2 separate regions of the Homo sapiens genome follow, and region 1 is linked to region 2. Evidence: promoter capture Hi-C in 16 types of primary human blood cells and fetal thymus (Javierre and others, 2016). All regions are on one chromosome and are shown on one strand. The core of a region is centred on a gene start or on the middle of the fragment in contact, and the rest is flanking DNA. Distances in the headings are between cores, read along the strand shown.

Region 1 (7,168 bases), core at 2,497-4,996, 190 kb before region 2:
AAGTTAAACAGAGTTAACTACGACACCACAATTCCACTCCTAGGTATCTTTCCAACAGAAATGAAAACATATGTCCATATAAAAGCTTGTACACAAATGTTCACAGCAGCATTTTTCTTAATAGCCAAAAAGTGGAATAACTCAAATGTCTATTAACTGGTGAATGGATAAACAAAATGTGGTATATATCCACACAACAGAGGATTATTCAAAAATAAAAGGAGTGAAGTGGCCAGGTGTAGTGGTTTACACCTGTAATCCCAGCACTTGGGAGTCCGAGGCAGAAGGATCACTTGAGCCCAGGAGTTCAAGACCAGCCTGGCAACATGGCGAGACCCCCATCTCTATTATATTAAATTTAAAATTTTTTAATTTTAAAAAAGGGATGAAGTAACAGTACATGCTACATACAACATAGATAAAAACCTTGAAAACATTATGCTAAGGGAAATAAGCCAGTCAAGTCACAAAAGGACAAACACTACATGATTCTATTTATATGAAATGTTCACACTAGGCATAAATATGCATAAAGAAATAAAGCAGATTAGTAATTGACTAGGGCCGGGAGGAGGAGGCAACAGGGAGTGGCTGCTAATGGGTACAGATTTTCTTTTTGGAGTGATGAAAATGTGGAATTAGAGAGTGGGGACAGTTGCACGAAACATGTAAATATACAAAAGAAAACCCACTCAATTATATATTTTAAAAGGGTTAATTTTATAATATATGAATTACATCTTAAGCTATTATTAAAAAACAAATCAGGCTGGGCACAGTGGCTTATACCTGCAATCCCAGCACTTCGGGAGGCCAAGGCTGGAGGATCACTTGAGGCCAGGAGTTTAAGATCAGCCTGGGCAACATATTGAGACCCTGTCTTTACCAAAAAAAAAAAAAAAAAAAAAGAGTTTCGCTCGTTTCCCAGGCTGGAGTGCGATGGCACAATCTCGACACACTGCAACCTCTGCCTCCCGGGTTCAACTGATTCTCCTGCCTCAGCCTCCCAAGTAGCTAGGATTACTGGCACCCGCCACCATGCCCAGCTTTTTGTATTTTTTTTAGTAGAGAAGGGGTTTCACCCATGTTGGCCAAGCTGGTCTGGAACTCCTGACCTCAGGAGATCCACCCGCCTCAGCCTCCCAAAGTGCTGGGATTACAGGCGTGAGCCACCATGCCTGGCCAAAAAAAAAAAAATTTTAATCAGCTAGGCATGGTGATACATGCCTGTACTCCTAACCACTTGGGAGTCTGAGGCAGGAGGATCACTTGAGTCCAGGAATTCAAGGTGCCAGTGAGCTACGATCACACCTCTGCACTCCAGCCTGGATGACAGAGTGAGACCATCTTTAAAAAGAAATAAAATAATTTAAAAAAGAACCAAATCCCTGTAACTACTGAAACCACTGTGAAGGTTGTTTCTTTAAAAACATACACTTTCCTCTTTTGTTTAGCAGAACATACTCAGTATTGCTTTTCTGAATTTACTCAAGGTCAACACTATGAAACATCAATGACTAAACAGCTGTAAATTCAGAGAATTCAACGGTGCGCAGGCTAGTAGCCCTTTACATAGTTATCTCCAAACTACTATTCTTTCACAGTATTCCACCTGTCTTCTATAATTTTGTTTCCTCCTTCTACCATGAAAAATCAAGAACAACAAGAGATCAGAGGCAGGAGGGATATACTAAGGAAAAGGTGAAGGACTGTGCACACAGGCAGCCACATACACTTAAAGAGAGGCTGTTTTCTGTTTTCTTCCCCGCTTGTTTTCTGCTTTCTACCCATTCTGAAGGCAACGTCTCCCATTCTTACTAAGGATACACATCTCCATCCTTTTATGTTTACCGACCCAAAACAAGGGGAAAAGTGGGGAAGCCCACCCAAATAGCTGAACTGTGGAAGACCTCAAATGATACTGACATCACCCAAACTGCCTGATTCCACCTGAGAACACCCACAGGGCAAAGACCGCACAGACCATAGCATTCCAAGGTGTTCTGCTTCTCCACTATTCAAAGAAAAAGTTCTGGGGCCGGGCACGGTGGCTCACGCCTGTAATCCCAGCCCTTTGAGAGACTGAGGCAGGTGGATTGCTTGAGCTGGCCAAGAGTTCAAGACCAGCCTAGGCAACATAATGAAACCCCTGTCTCTACTAAAAACATAAAAATCAGCCGGGCGTTGTGGCATATGCCTGTGTTTTCCAGCTAAGTCCTCAGCTTGGGGGGCTGAGGTGGGAGGATCACTTGAGCCCAGGCTGTCGAGGCTTCAGTGAGCTGAAATTGTGCTACTGCACTCCAGCCTGGGCGACAGAATAAGACCTTGTCTCAAAAAAAAAAAAGAGAGAGAGAGAGACAAAGAAAAAGCTTTGAGACAGTTACTACACCTACCACTAACTTACTCCACACACACCCAGGCTGGCTGACCAAGGACACTTGGCCTTCTATCTGTAGCTACACTGAACACTTTCTCTGCAAAACTCTATAGCATCTGAACATAAGACACTCCTTTAGGAGTCAATATCTTTTCTTTTACACTGTTTGATGGGGACAGAGTTTGAGGTGCCAGGACCCCCTGCTATGATAACCAGCTTCTCACACAATCTCCTCTCACTCTAAGACCCTCTAAATGATCAGCAGGCTGCTGGATCTAACCAACCTTCTTTCATAGTCGACCAGAGTGAGATGATCACCTGGCCTATGGAAACAAAGCAAATGGCTGAGAGGAGTCAGTCCAATACCCAGTCTTGAATATTTTTGTACTGAGCCATAGAAATGGGAGTCAGATGATGATGAGTACTGGAACTAGAGTCAGGACATGCAGGAGCCATGACTAAGGCCACTACATGTAACTCAAGCAAGGAAGCTACATGTGAATGGAAAAAGCCCAGCTCCAGAGAAGACATGTACTCCAGACTCTCCAGATCCAGTTCCCACTGCCCAGCTGCACTTCAGTTTCTGTCCCGAGAGGCTACGATTGCTTCTGCTCTTCTTAGACTAAAACTGCTTTCACTTGGCCTAAACTGTGTGGCTCATGGGACTTGCAATCAAAAGTGCTCTAATCTAAAGCACGGCCTGCTTACCTTCCCTGACATCAACCCCAAACCATCTGTTTCCTAGTGTTTATTAAGAACCTCAGACTTTTCTGAATGAGCTAGCCAATCCTCTTTACAAATATAAATATTGCAAATATTAAAATCTCACCTAAAAATCACTTTCTGTATAAATGAACCTCAGGGCCTGATTACCATCACTTTTTTTTTTTTTTAATGTGTGATTCTGACAGTTTATTTAAGGCACAGCCTCCCACCTTGGGGTCATGAAAATATTGGCCATATATTTACTGTTAGGACATTATAACTAGTTTTCTCATTAAGCTTCAAATCCATTTGAAGTTTTTATTTTTTTAATTGTGGCAAAATATGCATAACATAAAATTTACCACTTTAACCCTTTTTGAGCATACAATTTAGTGAAATTAGGGACATTCCTATTGTGTATCACCATTAGCCATAGCTTATTTTCAAAGCATTCTGAAAATCATGACTTTTTTATTTTTATTAAACAAGTGTTTATGTTCCCTCATCAAATGACAAGGGCCAGGAGCCTCATCAGTGGCAGGACTGTGGCAGGACAGTGACGAAGGTAGCAAAGAGCACCCACAACAACTTGGAGCAGCACCAGAGCAGCTAAATCCATCCTCAGTTCCTCCAGACATGGCCACAGAAGCTAAAGAGACTAAAAATACTTGGAGAGGACAGATAAAAAGCTGTCAAGGATATTTAGCCCAGTTAGAGAGGTCGCCACTATCACCATATTTGCATCAGAAAACACTCATACAAGCTGCAGTGGGAAATATTTAGAATAATTAGATTCAGTACAGAAAGCCTGATGTTCCTTCCCTCCCAGAATGCCTGGAAGAAATCTCTGGGCCTTGAATTTGGTCAAGTTATCTATGATCAATTTCTGGAGGACCCCTAGGAAGAAAGACAAGTACTTCAAAAATGTTAAGTGCCCACTCTCCACCCTTCTAACTTGTTATAGCTTTCTTTTTAGCACAACAGCCTCTATCAAGAAAACCAAATGAGGAAGAAACTTTCATCAAAGCTTTGTGAAAGCAAATGATTCAGCCAGAACATTTCATAATGGCTGAGATGGAAAGGATAAGGCAGGGAATGTTTACACGAACACCAGGAACTTCAACTTGCCTCTCAGTATCTTTAAAAATGAAAGAAACTTCCAAAAATAAATTATGTTCACGGCCTCTCCAAACGCGAGGCCTATAGGAGGCCCAGGGAGCAGGTTCAAGTGAAGATGTGATATGATCAATGACAGTGGGCCCACAGCAACTCCCCAATCCACACGAGTTTCTAAATAGGAAGAGTCTTCATTTACTGAATTACTGGGAATCGATAGATTTTAATAACAGTTATATTAATCAACTCCAGAAAGTACAACTAAATGAATATAAATACTACCTTAAACATAAAAAGTCTGAGGTTAGCAAATATTTTTCATCTGTAATCATATATTATTTAAGTCTATTTTCCAAAACTATGAACCCTCATCTATGTCTGAACAAAGACCTCAGATCTGTCATACAGAATAACTATGAACATTTTGGTGTTGTACATCTTTTTTAATAAATTTAAATTTTTTTACATTTTGTTTGTTTTGAGACAGGATCTCACTCTGTCATCCAGACTGGAGTGCAGTGGCGTGATCGTAGCTCACTGCAGCCTTGACCTCAAGGGCTCAAGTAATCCTCCAACCTCAGCCTCCCAGGTACCTGGGATCACAGGCGCACACCAACACATCTGGCTAATTTTTTCTATTTTTAGTAGAGACAAGGTCTCACTATGTTGCCCAGGCTGGTCTCGAACTCCAGGGCTAAAGCAATCCTCCCGTCTCGGCCTCCCAAAGTGCTTAGATTATAGGCACCGAGCCACAGCACCCGGCCTACGTTTTTTAAAGTAAATATAGTATATTAAACAGACAGACCTAAAAAATTAAGCCCTCTATGTACCTCAGAAAGGAGATATCTGAGTGTCTGTAGTTCAAATCCCCCCATACAGCTTGAGTCAACATATTATTCTTGTCCTGGAGCAAGGACCTCAAAAGGAAAAGATACAGTTATACAGAATAGCTGAATATCAGGAAAGCAAGCCCTGAAATGAAATTCCATATCTCCGACTTCATTTCCTTACACAATAGTCCCCCTCTTATCCATGGTTTCAGTTACAAGCGGTCAACTAAGGTCCAAAAATAGGTGAGTATGGTACAATAAGATAATCAGAGAGAGAGAGAGACCACATTCACACAACTTTTATTACAGTATATTGCTGCAACTGTTCTGTTTTATCATTAGTTATTGCTATTAATTATTAATAGTAATTATTATTAATGGGAAGGAACTTTCGAGGTCATCGCTAGGAAAACCCTTTACCCAACACATGAATCCCCTCAAAATGACTACCAACTATCTCATTACATAAGAGCTGAGGTCTGAGAAAAGCAAGATGAGGAAAAGCTGTGCTGGAATCAAGAGTGATAAATGCAGAAATACCATCTGGTAAAAGAAGGTATGGAGGCCATGGAGAGAAAGGCTTCTAGCTCCTGGTCCACCTAAGTGGCAGCAAAGACAGCACAGGATGCAGCTCTGCTGGGATCCTTGAGTCCTGCTCACCAGCATTCCCAGCTAGTGAAAGAGTACAAGCCAGGCACAGCGGCTCATGCCTGTAAGCCTGGCACTTTGGGAGGCTGAGACAGGATGACTGCTTGAGGCCAGGAGTACAAGACAAGCCTGCGCAACATAGCAAGACCCTTTCTCCATAAAATTAAAAAAGAATTAGCCGGGTGTGGTGGCACACGCCCGTAGTCCTCACTACTCAGGAGGCTGAGGCAGGAGGATCACTTGAACCCAAGAGTTCAAGGTTGCAGTGAGCTGTGATGGCACTCTAGCCTGGGTGACAGATCAAGACTCTTGTCTCTAAAAAATTTTTTTAATTAATAATAAGTAACGAATAAATAAATAATAAATAAATAGTAAAAAGGAAAGAGTTTGAGCTGGGAATCCAAGTGGGCTTGTTCTACAAGCTGTCTAGGAAGTGCAAAGCCTTCACAGCTAGAGAACTAACCAATCACTGATTGGTTCAGGGTTAGATAAAAATGATAACGCTTTAGCCAGGCGTGGAGGTGGAGGCTAACGTCTGTAATCCGAGCACTTTGGGAGGCAGAGGCGGACGGATCATGAGGTCAGGAGATAGAGACCATCCTGGCTAACAAGGTGAAACCCCGTCTCTACTAAAAATACAAAAAATTAGCCGGGCGCGGTGGCGGGCGCCTGTAGTCCCAGCTACTCGGGAGGCTGAGGCAGGAGAATGGCGTGAACCCGGGAAGCGGAGCTTGCAGTGAGCCGAGATTGCGCCACTGCAGTCCGCAGTCCGGCCTGGGCGACAGAGCGAGACTCCGTCTCAAAAAAAAAAAAAAAAAAAAAAATTAGCCAGGTGTGGTGGTGGGCGCCTGTGGTCCCAGCTACCCAAGAGGCTGAGGCAGGAGAATGGCGTGAACTCGAGAAGTGGAGCTTGCATCACTGCACTCTAGCCTGGGCGACAGAGATAGACTCTGTCTCAAAAGATAAATAAATAAATAATTCTGATGCTACCGCCAGTATTCCAGACTTTTTGAAACCTAATAATAATAGCCCATAACTTTTCATAAATTCTACAGTGGCACATGGCTTTGAAAATTAGGGGGTTTTTACAGAGCCCTCTACCATTAAATATTCCTTTTTTAGGCTGGGTGCGGTAGCTCACACCTGTAATCCCAGCACTTTGGGAGGCCGAGGTGGGTGAATCACCTGAGGTCAGGAGTTCAAGACCAGCCTGGCCAACATGGTGTCTCAACTAAAAATACAAAAATTAGCCCAGCGTGGTGTTCAGCACCTGTAATCCTAGCTACTTGGGGGGCGAGGCAGGAGAATCGCTTGAACCAAGGCGGCGGAGGTTGCAATGAACCAAGATCGCGCCATCGCACTGCAGCCTGGGGGACAAGAGCAAGACTTTGTCTCAAAAAAAAAAAAAAAAATTCCTTTCTTCATTATCACTTGCAAATAGATTCTTTTATAGAAATTATATTTAAATAATATATAAATTATTTCATTATTA
Region 2 (6,908 bases), core at 4,315-6,814:
TGAACCCTCAGCCCCATCTTAGAGACAGAAAATTCATCAGTGTGCAACAGGTGTCTGTGGGAAGGAGTGCTGTGGACACCCACTCCTATCTGCTCATTGTTCCCTGATTGTAAAACCTCTCCTTCCATTTGCCCTCCCAAGAGATATATTGTTTTAAGTGAATTTAAATTAGTTTTGAGAATTTCCTGACACTCTTAAAAAACTAGACATTCCAAAATATTGCAGAATCCAAGTAGGTAATTACTGCCCCAAAGCAGTGAAGTAAACTCTATGGTTCATTCAGATCACAAGCATATCATTTGCAAACAGTGGCAACGTCCTCCTTGTCTTGCTAGAAAACAGGCATTAGGCTGGGTGCGGGGGCTCACACCTGTAATCCCAGCACTTTGGGAGGCTGAGGCGGGTAGATCACCTGAGCTCAGGAGTTCGACACCAGCCTGGCCAACATGGTGAAACCCCCTCTCTACCAAAAATACAAAAAAATTAGCTGTGCATGATGGCTGACACCTGTAATCCCAGCTACTTGGGAGGCTGAAGCAGGGAGAATTGCTTGAACCCAGGAGGCAGAAGTTGCAGTGAGCTGAGATCGCACCACCACACTCCAGCCTGAGCCACAGAGCAAGACTCCGTCTCAAAAAAAGAAAAAAAGAAAGAAAAGAAAGCAGGCATTAGCCACCTATGTAGCAGATGGAAATAAACCAATGCTGGCAGTTTGCCTGCTAGAAATATACTGAATGCAGCTGGGCACAGTGGCTCGTGCCTGTAAACCCAGCACTCTGGGAGACCAAGGCAGGAGCATCACTACCTCGAGACCAGCCTCAGCAACACAGTGAGACCTTGTCTCTACAAAAAATAAAATTACGGCCAAACGCAGTGGCTCACGCCTGTAATCCTAGCACTTTGGGAAGCCAAGGCAGGTGGGTCACTTGAGGCCAGGAGTTTGACACCAACCTGGGCAACATGGCGAAACCTTGTATCTACTAAAAATACAAAAATTAGGTGGGTGTGGTGGTGGGCCTGTAGTCCCAGCTACTTGGAAGGCTGAGGTGGGAGGATCACTTCAGCACAGGAGAAAGAGGCTGCAGTGAGCCAAGACTGTGCCACTGCACTCCAGCCTGGGCAACAGAGCAAGACCTGTCGCAAAAAAAAAAAAGCTGGATTGTTCAATTTTGAGCTTAATCGAATACGAAAGAGGCCTGAAGTCTGAGCACCACAGCCGCTCTCCTCCAGTCCTGCCCTGTTCTCAGCAAGTGAAAAAACCTCCTTCATCTACATCAAGTTGCAGCCATGAGTCCCTGAAGACAATCATACGCATTTCGGGCAGCCAGGGAGCTGAGACAGAGGCAGCGTGTGCACTGAGTCCAGCCATCTGGTTGAACCCCAAGCTCCACCACTAATCAGTGGGTGACCTAAGACAAAGTTTTCCCTCTCTATGCCTTAGTTTCCTCAGCTTATAAACTGGAGATAAAAAATAGCACCTACCTCATAGCATTACATAGGCCAAGAATAGTGTCCAGCTATGGTCAACAGTCAGTAACTACAGACCCTTATTAAAAGCAAGCAGACAGCCAGGTGCAGTGGCTCAACGCTTGTAATCCCAGCACTTTTGGGAGGCCGAGGCGGGTGGATCATGAGGTCAGGAGTTCGAGACCAGCCTCGACAACACGGTGAAACCCCGTCTCTAGTAAAAATACAAAAAACTAGCTGGGTGTGGTGGCGCGCCCAGCTACTCATGAGGCTGAGACAGGAGAATCGCTTGAACCCAGGAGGCAGAGGTTGCAGTGAGCCACAATTGCACCACGGCACTCCAGCCTGGGCGACAGAGCCAGACTCCATTTCAAACAAACAAACAAAAAGAGCAAGCAAATATCACATATTTTATTTGTAAATAAACTGAAAGTTTACTAAATCGGCTGGGCGGTAGCTCACGCCTGTAATCCCAGCACTCTGGGAGGCCGAGGCAGGTGAATCACCTGAGGTCAGGAGTTCGAGACCAGTCTGGCCAACAAGGTAAAACCCTGTCTCTACCAAAAATACAAAAAAGAATTAGCGTGGTGGCGCACGCCTGTCATCCCAACTACTGAGGAGGTTGAGGCAGGAGAATCCCTTGAACCCGGGGGTGGAGTTTTACGACACTGCACTCCAGCCTGGGCGACAGAGCAAGTTTCCATTCCAAAAAAAAAGAAAGTTTACTAAATCATTTTCTAGACAAGCCTGCATTTTCTACCAGAGTTTTTACCAGAGTTTTAGAACCATTTCCCCAGCTAATTCAAACTCTCAAGAAACAGATTTCTGCCAGACTAGTGACTGGGGTCACCACAAGCAGCCCCTTCCAAACCTACTGACCCTCTGACCAGTCAGAAGCCCACGAACTTGCGGTGGAGGCACTGGGTTTGACTACTCATCAAGAAAGGTCTCAGAAACTCAGAAGATTACCTCCTTCGGATAAGGGATGTAGCCAGCATAGGCCAAGACAAAGGTGCAGAATTTGTTGAAGTCTTCCACGGTCCTGCGCCTCTTGCAACTGGGGGAGTATTCCTATTAAGGGGAGAGAAAAGGGAATGTGTTTGAAGGAGAGGCTTCCAGGCGGAATCACAGAAACAAAAGGAAGTAAGCTGGAACTTTTGTAGTCAATCACTCAAAAAATACCGTTAGATTTACACAGTCCACAAACAAGATACGGTAAGTTCAGGTCAAGAAATAACACTATTTTCAGAGAGCAGAAAGAGGAGTATTAAGACTTTATGCCAAGAATGCTGGGAAATCAGCTGGGAGATAAAAACTTCTACAAAAGTCTATTTCTTAGTGCTCATGTGGCATTTTCTGACTTTATCTATTAGTTTCCACAGGCCTATCAGGCGAAGCTCTAATAACTACTTTTTTGCTACAGATTTTCCATTCTGAGTATGAACTGCTGCAGCAGCAGCTGGAACTGATGTATGTTAAGTGATTTCAAAAATCAACCACTCGCCGGGCGCGGTGGCTCTCGTCTGTAATCCCAGCACTTTGGGAGGCCGAGGCGGGCGGATCACGAGGTCAGGAGTTCGAGACCAGCCTGACCAACATGGTGAAACCCCGTCTCTACTAAAAATACAAAAATTAGCCGGGCGTGGTGGCGTGCACCTGTAGTCCCAACTACTCAGGAGGCTGAGGCAGGAGAATCGCGTGAACCCGGAGGCGGAGGTTACAGTGAGCCAAGATCGCGCCACTGCACTCCAGCCCGGTAGACAGAGCTAAGATTCCAACTCAAAAAAAAAAAAAAAAAAAAATCAACCACTCATTCTCCAGAGCTCTCGGAGACCTGGACCCTGGAGTTCACTCCTGGCTGACCCTGCCAAGCTAGCGCCACCTGAGGACCCCTCTCTCGTGCTCAGAGGGTCCCCTCCACTGTCCCAGCCAGTCGGGATGCCAGGCACCCAACTATCTCAACTCACAATAAACCAAGAACCTTACTGCGAAGCTTAGTCTTACATTTAAACGGAATAGTGGAGGTTTTTGCTCGCGGGTCCCAGCCCCATTCCATCTAGAAACACCCATCACAAAAAGATATTTTCTCCTGAGAGAAGCACGGAGAGATGGAGCTCTTATTTGCTCCTAAGCAAAACAAGTGTGCCGTATTGCTGTTTATTCGCCCGGCACGTTCCCTGAGGTTCCTTTCAGTGCCTTGTCCGACCCACCCCCATCCTTCCCGAGGTGCTGTTACCCGGCCGCCACTCTGCTGGGGGAGAGCCGGTGGGGAAATGGGGGGCAGGGGTCTCGGGCCGCCCCTCCCGCCGCGAGGAGCAGGCGTGCGGCCCGCGGGTTTTCTTTCGAGAAAGTCGGTGCCCTTAGAAAATTATTTTCTCAACCTGGTTCAAGCAAACCTTCTCCTCTCCCACCCCCTTGGACCCCAGGGCCGCCCACGGAGCGGAGGCGAAGGCCCGCGTTGACCGCGCTCCCCGCACTGGCGAGCCTGCCCAGCCACGGGAACCGCGGGCCGCCACCCGGGCCTCCAACTCCCGCGAAGAACTTTTCTTTCGGCGGGGAACCAGCAGAAGTGGGTCAAAAACCCGAATGCCAAGTGGAGGGCGGCGACGGCCTCGGGCCGGGGGCGCGCGGGAGGCACCGGCGCGGGGACTGGGGGTTCCACGCCGCCCCCACACGGCCCACGCCGCCCGCCCCCCCGGCCGCCTCCTCGGAAAGCAGATGGCGGAGCGGCCCCCACCCGCCCTCCCGCGGCAGCCGCCCCCCGCGACACTCGGCCCCCGAAGGTGCGGGGCCCATCCCGCGAGTATGTGTGAGGGGGGTGCGCCAGGCAGGATTCCGGGGTCCCAGGCCTGGGGAGGCCCTGCGAACCCCCGGGGGCGGCAGCGAGACCGGCGGGCTCCGGCGCCGCCTCCCCTCCCCCACCCGCCCGCGGTCGCCGGACCCGCACCCCCGACCCCAACGAGCCTCGGCTGGGGGGAGGGGACCGCGCGGGGGGGAGGCCGGGAGCCCCGAGGGCCGATCCCCGGAAGGAGGGGGAGTGAGCCGGGGCGGAGCCAGCAAAGCCCGCGGGCGGGGGGCGGGGGCCCGAAGAGAGAGGCCAGCGCGCCGGGGGGCGGTGGGTGGGGGCAGGACTCGGGTCCCCAGAGCGGGTGGGGCCCCCGGAGGACGCGGCCCCCGAGAGCCGTAGGGGGCGGGGGCCGACTGGGCCCCGCGCGGAGTCAGGGGGCGGGGCGCGGGCCACCGGGCCCGGGGGATCGGGGGAGCAGCCGGGGGCCTCGGGAGCCGACCCCGGTCCGAGGGGGGCCTAAAACTCCTCGAGAGCAACCGGAGCCAGGGGCGGGCGGCGGCTCGGACCGCGTCCCCGGGGGCGGGGAAAGAGTAAGCAGGCCGGCGGGGAGGGGCTGGGGGCGCCGACAGGTCCCAGGTCGACGCGAGGCCGGAGAGGGGCGGCCCGGGGGAGAGAAATAGGCGCAACGGCCCTGGGGAAAGGGCGCGGGGAGGACGCGGAGGTCCGCGGAGGGGACGCGGAGGCGAGGCCCGGCGGAGAGGACCGAGCGCGGGCCCGAGCAGGGGGCGGGGGTTGGGCTCCCGGGGGGGCCGACGAGGGGAAAGCGGGGGAAGGGGAGGGCGGCGCTCCGGGCGACCGGGGGTCTGGCTGCCTGAGGACGGCAGGATCGCGGAGGGGGTGGTCGGGGGCGATTCGGACGCACAGCTTCACTCACCTCCGGGTGGAAGGCGGCGGCGCAAGAGTCAGAGTCCATGTTCCGGGCGGGGGGCGGCGGCGGCTGCGAGAGTGCAGGAGCTGGGATGCTGGAGCGGGGCCGCCCGGGGCTGGGGGCTCGGGCGGCTGCGCAGGGCGAGGGCGGACCCGGGAGGGGTCGCCCGGGCTGGAGGTGATGGGGGGCTCAGCGCGTCGCTTCTCAAGCTCTGTGACCCCGGACTGGCGGTTCCACCGCCGACCGGAGTGGACGATGCAGCTCCCGCGGCGGTAGAGGCGGGAGAGTGGCTGCAGGGGGCGGCGGCGGCGGCGGTGAGCGGGAACCCGACCGGCTCCCCGACCTGACGCCCAGTTCGGCTCGTGTCTCGGGAGGGAGGGCGGGAGAGCCGGGAGGCCTGTCGGGAAATGTAGTCTGGGTGGCGACTGGAAGCCAGCGGCGAGGGGGCGTGGCGCGGGAGGCGGGCGCGGTGCCTTGTGGGAGTGGTAGTCCAAGGCCCCGCCAATACTGCGCACAAAGGAAACCTTGGGGACTCCAACCCCCATGAGGCTCCGCGGCGGCGGCCCCGGTGTGTGGAGGCGGGTCTTCTGGACTCGAGGCCGCGCGAGCGGGGGAGGTGCGGGGGCCCGCGCCGGCTCGGCCGCGGGGGGAGGGGCAGTGTGAGCGGTAGCGCCTTGGTCTCGGCGGGCGCGGGGGCGGGAGTCGCTGCGGCGGTGGGGGCGGGGCTGACGGCCCGGGTTGCGAAGGGCGGCGGCGGCTGGCACCTACCCTTCCTCGTCTCCTACTTGGGGTTCGCGCCCCTTTGTGGGGCGGGGGTCCCCGAGGCCTGGCCGGGAGTAGGGGCGGCAGGGGCGGGGACGCTGACGTCGCGGCCGCCCCGGGCATCGCTCCCCGCTCCCCGCTCCCCGCTGAGGGCGGAGTCGCCGCCCGGCCCCCGCTCCAGGCCGGGCTCAGCGAAGTTGTTTTCGCGGCTGCGGGCTTCGTGCGGCTCCCTGCTCCGGGCCCGCGGGGCCGGGACTGGACCGGGCTCTTCTCTAGGCATCTGCGGGATTCACTCGAGGTGGCCGGGTTCGTGCATTAAAAACACCGGGCCAGCGTTGTCAGTGTTCTAAAGAGGTGTGCGTTCAGTTTGCTTTCTGTTGCCGCCTAAGCCTAACCTTGGGACCGGCCGTTTTCCCACTCTCCTGAATATCCTCCGGCCCGCAGGGCGAGGCGGAGACGCGGTGTTTGGCGCTGGCATCGACTGGTACTTGTTTAGTGGTGTTTAACTGGGATGGGCAGTGTGTAAACGCTGGACCGCAGAGTATCCGACAGCTGTACGTGTGGAAGGCTGGCCGGACACGGTGGGGACTGCCCCTATGCGGTGACCAAAAGGCGGTCTGACGGGAACATTTTTAATATTCGAAAGTGGGGGAAAAAGGTAAGTACAAAACGCAGATGATTCAGTAACCTGTTTGGTAGCTTCGAAGAAGTTAAAGGGGAGTGACACAAAATTGAAAATTCAAATTAGAAAACGAACTCTTGGAGATACTAGTAAGATATTTGACAGGCGCCGAATGCTCCATCAAGCTGGCTGTTGCTATTTCAAGGGTTATGATCATTCTGATGAAGATATTTAATAGTTAGGAGATGGTGTTAATCTTAGAAATACTTCTCTGAGCGGCCGGGCGCGGTGGCTCGCGCCTGTATTCCCAGCACTTTGGGAGGCCGAGGCGGGTGGATCAC

What was found. Contacts are between HindIII fragments. The CHiCAGO score rates a contact against its expected background, and 5 or more counts as called.
Region 1: a fragment that was not itself captured here is called in contact with the fragment with the promoter of PHF13 in region 2 in 1 of 17 cell types (neutrophils); the score reaches 5.8 in neutrophils.

Annotation. Positions count from the first base shown.
Region 1 is chr1:6,797,917-6,805,084 of GRCh38, reverse strand. All of the region lies in intron 1 of CAMTA1 (calmodulin binding transcription activator 1), which reads right to left. Among named protein-coding and RNA genes, the nearest start is that of CAMTA1, 16 kb to the right of the region's middle. The HindIII fragment of the contact is 730 bases long and covers 3,382-4,111 here.
Region 2 is chr1:6,612,387-6,619,294 of GRCh38, reverse strand. PHF13 (PHD finger protein 13) reads right to left here and starts at 5,564. Exons shown (of 4, transcript NM_153812.3): 1 at 5,190-5,564; 2 at 2,437-2,538. The coding sequence starts at 5,228. LOC107984913 (a long non-coding RNA gene) reads left to right here and starts at 5,908. Exons shown (of 2, transcript XR_001737882.3): 1 at 5,908-6,603. RefSeq lists silencers at 4,376-4,835, 4,976-5,065, 5,236-6,015, 6,066-6,115. The HindIII fragment of the contact is 6,383 bases long and covers 3,463-6,908 here.